Linked DNA regions of Homo sapiens: region 1 is linked to region 2. Evidence: promoter capture Hi-C in 16 types of primary human blood cells and fetal thymus (Javierre and others, 2016). All regions are on one chromosome and are shown on one strand. The core of a region is centred on a gene start or on the middle of the fragment in contact, and the rest is flanking DNA. Distances in the headings are between cores, read along the strand shown. Region 1 holds the start of UBE2W (ubiquitin conjugating enzyme E2 W). Region 2 overlaps JPH1 (junctophilin 1).

What was found. The method cuts DNA at HindIII sites, captures the fragments that hold promoters and counts their contacts. A CHiCAGO score of 5 or more calls a contact.
Region 1: a contact is called between the fragment with the promoter of UBE2W here and a fragment that was not itself captured in region 2, in 1 of 17 cell types (fetal thymus). The highest score is 12.4, in fetal thymus.

The regions. Positions count from the first base shown.
Region 1 is chr8:73,874,397-73,880,498 of GRCh38, reverse strand. UBE2W (ubiquitin conjugating enzyme E2 W) reads left to right here and starts at 1,637. Exons shown (of 6, transcript NM_018299.6): 1 at 1,637-1,691. The coding sequence starts at 1,677. It overlaps LINC01617 (long intergenic non-protein coding RNA 1617), which reads right to left and starts at 1,517. Exons shown (of 3, transcript NR_147034.1): 1 at 1-1,517. RefSeq lists silencers at 1,405-1,694, 1,835-1,884, 1,905-2,164 and enhancers at 1,551-2,428, 2,905-2,954. The HindIII fragment of the contact is 3,471 bases long and covers 638-4,108 here.
Region 2 is chr8:74,315,014-74,320,417 of GRCh38, reverse strand. JPH1 (junctophilin 1) reads left to right here. Exons shown (of 6, transcript NM_020647.4): 2 at 4,798-5,404. Among named protein-coding and RNA genes, the nearest start is that of JPH1, 3.8 kb to the left of the region's middle. The HindIII fragment of the contact is 2,218 bases long and covers 752-2,969 here.

The sequences.
Region 1 (6,102 bases), core at 388-2,887, 440 kb after region 2:
TGCTACTGTTTCCACAGGAACAATCAGCTTTTAGGCAAAGTGAACCTTGGACGGTAAAAGCTGATCTTCTGAGGTCATAGGAATAAATATATCTCAAAGAAAATACACTGGAAACTTCTTCTTTAAGTTTTCCTCTTTCATTGGAATATGTGGGTTTCCTCACTGTTGTAATGTTGATGACACAACAAGGCTAACACCGGATATGCTTCTGGCTGATTCCGGTTTACCAAGAGCATCCAAACATCCCTCAAGGACACAGTCATTTTGCACAACAAAGGGAAACTCCGCTCATTTCTGGCATTAAGGTGGACATCTGAGAAAGGGGAGGGTATACCACCATAACTTCTCTAGTGATGAATAGTGTTTAATATTATACCATAGACTAACTGGCGTATTTTAAAGATCTTTTTCCTTTTTGAACACATTTCAGATTAGAGAAGTTCCAGAGAACGTAATCTATTTTAAGAGTGTGAAAGAGTGATATTCCACATTGCTTTTATATCTTAAAGAAATTTCTAAAAAGAAAGCCGAGTCAATAAAATGACAGATTTTAAGCCTTCATTCTGGTAACATAAAAGCCTTCTACTCATTGTGTCTGCCACCTTAATTTTTAAAGATAGAGCATGAGGTGTAAGCTTTTGGCTTCCATTTTCCTCTTATAAACCAATGACATCTTCAGTTCCAGAATAGCTTTTTAAAAACGTGACTTCTGATAAATGTTGGCAGAACTGGTGCATTCCTAAAATAAATTATGTATGCTCAGCTTTCCCTACCCAAGTTCATCCCTAAATGACCACAAAACTGCCCACCACGAACTATGCTTAAGAGAAGTCTGGACATAATGGTATAAGTGTATATAACACGACATTGGTATATTTAAAAAAAAATTCATGCCTAGGGTCAATTCTGATAATCAAATTTAGACTGCTGCAACAACCGTAACTATTGTTGATATATGCGCAGTTTAAAAGTGAAGGGCGGGGGTAAGGGGCAGAAACTGCACACAACAAACTTCCAAATTTTGTCTCCCTTTTCAGGCAAGTTTCAGCTCCACAAATCTAAATACCCTCGCCTTTAAAATATCAGTGTCGTTCTGCTCTTAAATCCTCATCCCGTTGTACAAGGAAACCTATGTCTCTCTTCCCCAAATTAAGAATACGAGAAGCCTTCCAGGTCTGCAAATACCAGAAAGCAGCTGCGCATGAAGTTTTATGGGGCCCCAAGGCTCTGAGAGTGGGCTTGGAGGTATGGAAAACACATCCCAAGGGAAAAATCTGTGAACCGCACAACTGTGGTTGGAAACGAAATAGGAAAAAAACTGCGCGGAACCGGACGTCATCAGCATTTCGCGGTACACACGAAGAAAACAACCGTAGTCGGGTCAAAACTGGAGCCGTGTCTCCTCAGTAACGAGAGTAAATGGGGGCCCGACGCGTGAGCGGCCAGCCGGACTGAGACAGAAAGTACTCAGAGCGCCATTTACCGCGCCCTCGCCCCGCCCCGTAGCCCCTCCTCCCGTCCGCCCTGCGCGCCAGCCAATCCCCTCGCTCCATCCCCTTCCCATCGCAGACCCCGCCCCCGCGCCCGGGATGTTGAGCCCCCGCGGCGTGACGCGAGCACGGCAGCTCCTCCCCCTGCGTCTCTGGCCTCGCCGGTCTTGGGGGGATGGTTCCATCATGGCGTCAATGCAGGTGAGAGGAGTTTGCTGCATCTGGGCGGGCCAGGGAGCCGCCGAGAGAGTGCCAGCGTTCGGGCGGGGGTGGCGTCCGCGATTCGGGGACACCCGGGCGGGTTCGGGATCGGTCCGGGTGGCCTGTTTTCCCTCAGCTCAGGGCGTCGGGGGAGGGGTAAGAGGCGGCGAGAGGCGTTGTGGGGGGTGCGGTATCCGTCGGTCGAAGCGGACACCAGCCGGCCGGGAAGTTGGGTGATAAAGGAGGGTTGGGGAAGAAAGGGCAAAGTCTGGCGTTGGCGGTCTCAGAATCGGCTCCCCGCACACACACACGGGCGCTGCCAGTCTGCTGCCCGCCAGCCCCAGGGTTGCCTTTACCCCCGCTGTCCCTGGCCCGACGGAAACAGCTGCGCCCGCGGTTGTTGCCGGGGCAGGGGCGGCGGGGGGCTGAGTGTGCGGGAGCCGAGAATGCGTCTCCGGAGAAGGCGGCTGGCTGCGGACGGCGCTTAGCGGCCTCTGCTCCGGCCTCCCACGCCGGGCCCCCCAGACTGCTCGGCCCCGTCCCTCTCTTCTTCCCTTTGACTCTTAATCCTGTGCCCGTGGGTATCTTCTATTTCCATCAGCCTCGGTATTCTCGCGGACATTCCTCCAGCAGTCCACTGTCTCCTTCCTCTCGAAGCTGCCCCGTGTCCACCGCCTGATGGGCGATCTCCCGAGAGCCGAGTCCTCAGCCCCCTTAAACCTCTCGGGATAGCTTGCCTTCTATTTTGTTTCCCACTGCAAGGCCCCACCCTTGCGGTCGCGATAAGGCTATACATCTCTTTGCCCTTATTCCCAGACCTTTAGTGGAACCTTAGTTTGGTAGGAGGCGTTTGTTAACCTGTGCCATATCCCCCCGACTTAGCAAGGCGTGGTTTTCTGGCTTTCCAACTTAATTTACTCCTTTTTCCCGAATCTAGGGAGTTGTGGGTTTTTTTGTTTTTTGTTTCCAGGCAAAGATGGCAACCACAATTGTAGTTGTGCAGGGATTGAGTGCGTTATCTGTAGCCTGCATTTAATTCACAGGTGAAGACTAGCGGTATCAAAGGCATTGGAAGAGAAAGTAGAACGCTCAATAGGAGTGTCAGCTGAGTACCCTTTAGCGTTTTCATAATATCCCCTTGGGTAAAGAGACCACATTTTCTTAGAAGTGTTTTTTGCTTTTGTTTCTGGAAGAAGCAAGTCTCTGTTCCTCCTCCATTTTTTTTTCTTTACTCTGCTAAAAGTGTTTTTCTTCCCTTTTCTGCATCTTCTTCCTCTTTTGTACAAATATAGCTTTGCTTCACATTTACTCCTGTGCTTTTATGTTATTCCCCTTTCAACCTGTTTTCCTTACAATATTCTCTTTACCTTGCTTCTCCCTCTGGACTTGCCTGCAGAACAGAAAAGTTTTATGTAACATTTCTAGTTGAAGAGATATCACGAATGGTGCAGGGAAAAAACAGGAACAATTTCAGGAAACATTATACTTTACACTAGTCTCCCCAGAGACGTTGGAGAAGTTTCGTCATTTGAGGCCAAAAAAGGAACAGTGGAATGCTAGTTGAACAGTAGATGCAATAGGCTACATTACCACTTAAAGATTTTTATCTGTGTTAAGATTAAAACATTTTTTATGACAAGTTTAAGATTATTATCTGTATTAAGATTAAAACATTATTTGAGGCTAAACATTAAGATTAAAATCCACAACACTTGTATTTGACAAGAGAACGTAGTGTGTCATCTCGTTAGATTTAGTATCTGGAAAAGGCAGATTTGTTTGTAAGAGAGAGGTTGGTAATCTTGAACTTGAACTTTACATGGTGTCTTTTTTCTTTTTTGAGATGGAGTTTCGCTCTTGTTGCCCAGGCTGGAGTGCAATGGGGCGATCTTGGCTCACCGCAGCCTCCACCTCCCGAGTTCAAGCGATTCTCCCACCTCAGCCTCCTGAGTAGCTGGGATTACAGGCATGAACCACCACGCCCAGCTAATTTTGTATTTCAGTAGAGACGGGGTTTCTTCATGTTGGTCAGGCTGGTCTTGAACTCCCGAACTCAGGTGATCCGCCTGCCTTGGCCTCCCAAAGTGCTGGGATTACAGGTGTGAGCCACCGTGCCTGGCCTACATGATGTCTTAAGAATTGGAAACAAATACTTGATTGACAGTGCAATAGTGCATTTTTCTGTGCCCTAAGTATTACTATCTCAGACTCTTACCACCCTTTTAAGTTTTTCCTTCACCTTGTTCCATCGAAATCTTATCACTCTCTATTCTTCTGTGTTTTCTGGTTAGAGGAATGGAAAACGGATGCTTCCTATATTTATTGAAAAGTCTTTCCCTTTTTATTTGTATTTTAAAATATCTAGTGCAGATTTGCTGGTAGTATCTTTAAGAATATTTTAATATATATGTCAAGCTTTTTGAAAGACAACCCTACTTTCTGTGTGGTTATTCTGTATCTTTGTTATACAGAATTTATATCCTGACTATCTTAATGGCAACATTTGGCTCTTTTAAGACAACTAGATTATACATAAATCTTCAATAAAATTATCAACTTTGTTTATTCACTGAGCCAGTTATCTTTTGGGGGACCTCTATGTGTCAGACACTTATCTAGTTGCTGTGGTTATAGCAATGAACAAAAGCAGACAAGATTTCTGCCCTCATGGATTTAATAATAAATAGTCTCATAAGAAGAGACAGATAAGAACAGCATATTTAAGTTAATTGTGTTTTGTTCTTGTTTTTTGTGTTGAGATGGAGTCTCGCTGTGTTGCTCAGGCTGGAGTGCAGTGATGCCATCTTGGCTCACTGCAACCTCCGCTCCCAGGGTTCTAGCAATTCTCCTACTCAGTCTCCTGAGTAGCTGGGATTACAGGCGCTGGCCACCACGCCCAGGTAATTTTTTTTGTGTTTTTAGTGGAGACTGGGTTTTGCCATGTTGGCCAGGCTGGTCTTGAACTCCTGACCTCAGGCGATCCACTCGCCTCGGCCTCCCAAAGTACTAGGATTACAGGTGTGAGCCACTGCACGCGGCCAAGTGTGTTATTATATTAGAAGGTGATAGTGCAGTGGAGAAAAAGCATGGAAGAAGACTAGGAAATTGATCATTTGGGGATTTCGATTAGGAAAAAATAAGCTGTAACATGGAATGACCATGTCCTTAACCCAAAAAGCTTTTAGTAGATTTATCTAACCCACACCAGGATGTTGCTGCTGCTGCTGAAGTTACTTAAGCTCTAAGAGGAACTGTATTTTTTTTAAAATGCCATATTATACAAATGTAACATGGGATTTCATTACTTGGTAATGAGTAAAACAAGTAAGGGTAGACTTTGAATTTCTTATTGGAGAGTATGTATTTTAAAGTTGAGCTAGTAACTGCTTTAATGTATTCTGTCAGTGCGTCTCAACCATCTTTTAGGTTCTGCCCACATAGAAAGTAAGTTTTGAATAGTACACTAAAGTAGATGAGATTGGGAGGCTAGAAGCACCTGGCAGGCAGCACCTCATGAAACTCCCGGGATGGGAGATCAATATTCTGGCACACCTGTAAATGCTGGGGACGCTCTACTCCCTAATATTGCTAGAGTTCTGCCATATACAATTCAAGATAGTGGTTTTCAGACTTATGTGATCCCTTTGAGACATTCTTTACTCATTTTCTTTTTTTCTTTTCCTTCCTATTGTTTCTTCCTAGAAAAAAGTAATGTATCACCAAGTAAGATTACAGTTAAATTATGTTTTAAGAAACCTTTTCTTTTTTGGAGACAGGGTCTCACTGTGTCACCCAGGCTGGAGTGCAGTGGCGCTGTCTCGGCTTGCTGCAGTTTCAACCTCCCTGGGCTCAAGTGATCTTTTCCATCTCAGCCTCCTGAGTAGCTGTGACTACAGGTTTTTGTATTTTGTAGAGACAGGTTTCACTATGTTGCCCAGGCTGGTCTGGAACTCCTGGGCTCAAGCAGTCACCTGCCTTGGCCTCCCCAAATCCTGGCATTACAGGCGTGAGCCTATGTGCCCAGTCTTAAGAAACCATCATTAAGAGAATGTTATATTTGTGGTGATACCTAAAATTGATAGGAGTTAAACAGATCTACATTTAATTTTGGTAATTCTAAAAATCTTTAAATATTACATGAAAAGTTTCTTGTAGCAAATTTTTAGTTTTAGCGTTTTAGGGACTGATTATTTGGTAGAAACTTTTATCCCCAAACTGCAGAAGCATTCTTTTATTGAAGTGAATTTTTATGTGATTCTAAACATTTTTGAAAGTGTAGCAGTATTGAGGTATTCTTTTCTCAGGTGAATCCTAAAATTGAATTTTTTGTTGTTGTTGTTAAATGCTTTTTTAAAATTTTATTTTATTTTATTTTTTTGAGACAGAGTCTCGCTGTCGCCCAGGCTGGAGT
Region 2 (5,404 bases), core at 611-3,110:
TCGCTTCTGGTCCTCCAGTAGCCTAAAGATAGAAGCCAGAACCCCGTAACTAGGATGTTGGGGAATTGTACCTTATTTGGGGGTGCATTTGGAAACGTCCTAGTTATGGGAGCAGAAAGGCCACCTGATGCAGGTGGAGTTCAGAGTGTGTGAGTTCCTAGTTTTCATTCCGTTTCTTAAAGTATTGGTCTTAAAAGAGTAGCAGTCTTTGCTGACCTGGAGATCTTGGACAAATTACTAGGAAGATATTTTAGAAATGGGTAATGAAGTCTACATTTTAAAGAATACAATTAGCAGGTGTGTTCCTATAGCTGCTAAGTTAGCAGCTACTACTCCTGAGAATGGCAATACTGAAACAATAATTTGCATTATGTGTGACCTAAGCCAGTATTCCTGGCTGTGAACAAAGATCACCTTATTTTAATATTTAACAATATTTGCCAAAGAGATTGTGTATATACCAGGACAGAAGTTCCTCTTTTATTAGGAAAAGTATACATTATTGAAACAGGTGTCAAAACCTGATGAATTTCCTTGTGTAATACGCTGAGAAAGATATTCATGAATAGCTTATGCTTTAGCAAAGTGCATTTCCTGATAAACATAATCATATTTAGTTGAAAAGGGTTGTAGGAGGCGACATCACTTTTTGGAATTAAGCAGCTCAGAGTTGGAGGATATTAAAGGGATGCAATTAAAAGTTTCTCCAGCCCACTGCAACCCCATTTATACCATTGCTTATATAAAAGCTTACACAATTTGTACACTTCACTTAGTCAGAACACTTGGGCCGTGTTTCAAATGCAAAATGGCAGAATGGTAGAACTTGCTAAAAAGGACATCTTTTCATCCTACAGTATAAATTAAGCATATGGTTCTCATGGATTAAAAGAAAAAAACGTTCTCTAATAGTTTTATGTGGGGCTGAGTCCCGAGTTTCACAGTAGTTAATTGGGACCCTTAAATGTTCTGAATGGGCATAAAGTACCTGGTTGACAGCGCTGTAAATATGTCAGTTTGTGACTGGATTTTGTTGGAGGCCCCAGCTCTACTATATAACTAAATTCCATGCTCAAAAGTAGAAGGCAAAATTTATTGTTTTAAATGTGTGCATTATTTTATAATCTTTTAAGAAGGCCAGGGATGGTTCTCTTCAGTTTTGGAAGGTTAAAAATCGTCTCCTTTTAAAGATACTATTCATTAAACACACTCTCTTGGTTTAGAGTATTCATTATACCTAGTAATCAAAATATATATAGCACAGTAGAGGCTGTCTGTGTACATGTCGTAGAAACCCAAATAAGTCTCCAGAATGATTTTATGAATAATCTGCCTTCAGTTTTAAAATAAACTTAAAAAAAAACTTAAAACTTGGCATCATCCTGGGTGGTACTGTGGTTTTCTTCTTCTACCAAAAAAAAAAATCTAATATGCTACAGTTAGGAAGAAAAACCTTAAAAATCACTACTGAATGTCTACTCTATGCTAATAGATTTTCTACTGTCTCATATGTAACTATTTCATTAGAAAGTTCTCAATCATAAAAAGGGAGTCTAAAGCAAGTTTATTGCTGTAACTTATTTCATACAAAGGTTTTGGCCAAAATAGGAATATCACTAAAAAATTAGCTTGTTTTCTGCTGTTCTCACTAAGGAGTTAGCTTGTTTTTGTTTGCACTCTCCCCATCGCCACATGTCCATCCCTGTACACCCTGTATCAGATTCAGGGAAAATCTGATTCCGAGTTTTTTTGTGGTGACATTAAACTGGAGGAGGAAGGAAGCAGTAATTCCATGTGAGACGTATCACTTATTTTATTAGTGATTTGTGTATTACATGTTGCTGAAATAGAAACCCCCTGAATATTAACAATAAGTTAGTATCATACTCATGAAATCCAAGTCTAGGTGCCCAGAATTTTTTGTGCTAATTCTGATCTGTACTTTGTTTTTTCACTTGTCATAAAACTATTGAAAATATCTGGGAAAACACAACGTTTTGTTAACTAGATGCATACTTGCACATACCCATTCGGAGCATATAAACTGAAGTTTGGCATAGTGCAGTGCAAATTTGACTGAAACTCCTAAACTGGATGCCTTCCACTACAAGATTGTGTAGTTAAAATGACTAAATCTAAAAAATTAGCTCCCAAATGAACACAGTTTAAAACTGGTAAAAGTAATTTTTATACTTGTGAAATATGCATCTACATTTTAGGAATCAAGAGGAACTAATTAGAACTTTATTTGAGCAGCAGGGAGAAGTTGGAACCCACCTGCTTCATAAAGAAATAGGCCCTTTCTTATTCTAGGTTCATTGACTAAACTAAACCTATTTTAAATTTCAGATGAACTGCTAACAGTTTGACTGCAAATTGGTTTCTAGCAATTCTGTGGAGGAATTCTTTCATATACTGTGATTTAACAAAATAGGAGAGGAATGTGGCCAATGCTCTTGTCCCCCCCTTCCCTATTTGACAGTTAAGCAGAGACTTAAACTTTCTAATTATTGCTGTTGCCTTAAACAGCTTGGATTTTCAAGCCATACTTTTTTGGAAATTCTAAATACTGTACTAGTCTTATTTTTGGAGATAACAGTTTAAAGAAACTAGCTGTTAATTTTCCATCAGTGTTAAACATTTACCAAGATGGTATGGCTGTGTTTTAAAAGTGCAGATACTTATTGATATCAAACAGCATCTCTGCAAATTGTTCTAGCAAAATTAACTTGTCACTATAGACAAAAGTTAGGAGGATGTGATTATAGCATTCTTTTAACCAACAAAATATTAAAAATAAGGTGGTTTATTTTAGTATCTTCAAGCCAGATTGTGAAACTTTCATCCTAGAATTTAAATTTTACCTGTATAGGCAAAGGAAAAGTCAAAGTCAAAATTTCCTAATAATTCCATTCCCATTCCTGTTAAGATGGCGGTATTTGGAGATGGCCAGTATTCAATAGGAAGCTTCTTAGCCTGAAATGTTTTACATGACTATCTTATCCTCTTGAGTTAATCTTTCAGAGAAAACTGTGGGCCACCCACCTCCTCAGAAGTTCATAGATGTCAAGTTAAGACTTCACATCTACCCAGAATATGACATTTACAGTACCAGACCCACTTAGTATTTCATTGTATATCTACTATTGCCTGTGTCACATATGCCAGAATGAACAAAAAGAGAAGGTAGTCTTGAAATTGGTCAAAACCGTTGACTTGGGAGTCATTATGGTTTTAACTTTTAAGTGCAATGAAATAACCAGCCATTGTTAACACAGTTATATAAAACCACTAGCATTTTTGCCCGGTGTTTTGAAAATGAATATGTGCCATGCAATGGAAATCTGTGCATGGAAATATAAAATGCAAAGTGACTGCAGGGTAGATCTATATAATCAGAAATGGAAAGAGGTCAAGACAGACTAATCATTATTTGTTTTCTATGACATTGTGAATTGTTATGAATAACACAGAAGTAATTACATTTTAAATTTTCCAGATAGCTTCTTTTGAGGGATACTGTAAATTAAAATTTACCCTTAATTAAAGGAAATTGATTTTGAAAAGAAACTTCTAAATTCCCTAATTTAACATTCATTTCCTCCTAAGATTATTTTAAAACCTGTACCAGGTTATTTTTTAATGTCTTTGCTTATTTATTTAGTAGCAAAAAATTCACTACAAATGCTCTAGATGACAGACTATCATGAAAAAGCATAATATTTGTTGACAGAGTCATCTGGTATCAACATTTTAATAGATAGTGTCAAATATACCTTTCCTCTGAGATGAAGTCCAAAATGGTAACAGTAGAAGATTTCATCTGGCCTTACATCAGTTTCTCCAAGAGTAAAGGGTATACTTTTTAGCCACCATAGCTTTTTACCGTCAACATAGTCATCAAACACCCTCCATCCACAAACACAGACCAGAGGACACATGAGAATTTTGTGTTCTCATACGAAGTAATTCCTGCCCTCAGGGTGCTTCTAGTCTGTGGTGTGATTCACAATGCAGTGGCAGCTAGGGAAATCCATAGAGGATGCAGAGATTTGGCAAATGATACGGCACAAAGCTTTGGCCTTTTCACTTAGAAGCACAAAAATGTTAAATTACTCATTTTTTTCATAATTCACTGTATTCATAATATATATTGTGGTTGTCGATTCTCTCTTAGCTCAAAAAGGTTCACCCAAATTCAAATGATAATCCTGAATATTCAACAGTTTTGTCTACACTAAAAAAAGAGATGCTGAATGTAGCAGAAAATTTAAGACGTTCATTTGATGACTGTGTCCCAAGTATTCCGATTTAAGCCTGTATACTTCTTGGAATGTTATACTGACATAGACCTAAAAGTCATTTTTTACAGTTTTCCAGCTAAATTAGTAATATTAGAATAAAATTTACACATAGAATTCATTTCATCTTCTACTGTTTCCTTGTCTTCTTCCCAAGAGGAATTTTTGATGCATTAATTTCAGAGGAGAATGTTGTTTCCCAGTGTTCACTTTTTGTATTAGAAAGTAGTGGTTTTCCTCTGAAATACTTGCATAAAATTTTAATGAAAAGCAAAAATTATCTGACTACTAGAAAATTCTGTGCAATGACATTAAAGCCTTACACCCAAAATTACAGGGCGGGGATTCACAAGTGGATGCAAAGTATCCCCCAGGGTTGACTTGGAAATGGGTCAGATTTGACCTTGGGCAGGCCTGCGCCAGTGTGCGCTGGATGGTGCAGGTGACGGTGCAGCTCTGCCCCCGACTCACGGTGCTTTCTTGCGGTCTCTCCAAGGTACCTACCAGGGCCAGTGGGCCGGAGGCATGCGGCATGGCTACGGCGTGCGCCAGAGCGTGCCCTACGGCATGGCCACGGTGATCCGCTCACCGCTGCGTACCTCGCTGGCCTCGCTGCGCAGCGAGCAGAGCAATGGCAGCGTGCTCCACGACGCCGCAGCCGCCGCCGACAGCCCGGCCGGCACCCGCGGCGGTTTCGTGCTCAACTTCCACGCAGACGCTGAGCTAGCGGGCAAGAAGAAGGGCGGCCTCTTCCGGAGGGGCTCCCTTCTTGGAAGCATGAAACTTCGCAAGTCCGAATCCAAGTCTTCCATCTCGAGCAAGCGCAGCTCTGTCCGCAGCGACGCGGCCATGAGCAGAATTAGTTCCAGCGATGCCAACTCCACGATCAGCTTTGGCGATGTAGATTGTGATTTTTGCCCGGTGGAAGACCACGTGGACGCCACCACCACGGAAACCTACATGGGCGAGTGGAAGAACGACAAGCGCAACGGCTTCGGCGTTAGCGAGCGCTCCAATGGCATGAAGTATGAAGGGGAGTGGGCAAATAACAAGAGGCATGGATATGGCTGTACCGTGTTTCCTGACGGCTCCAAAGAAGAGGG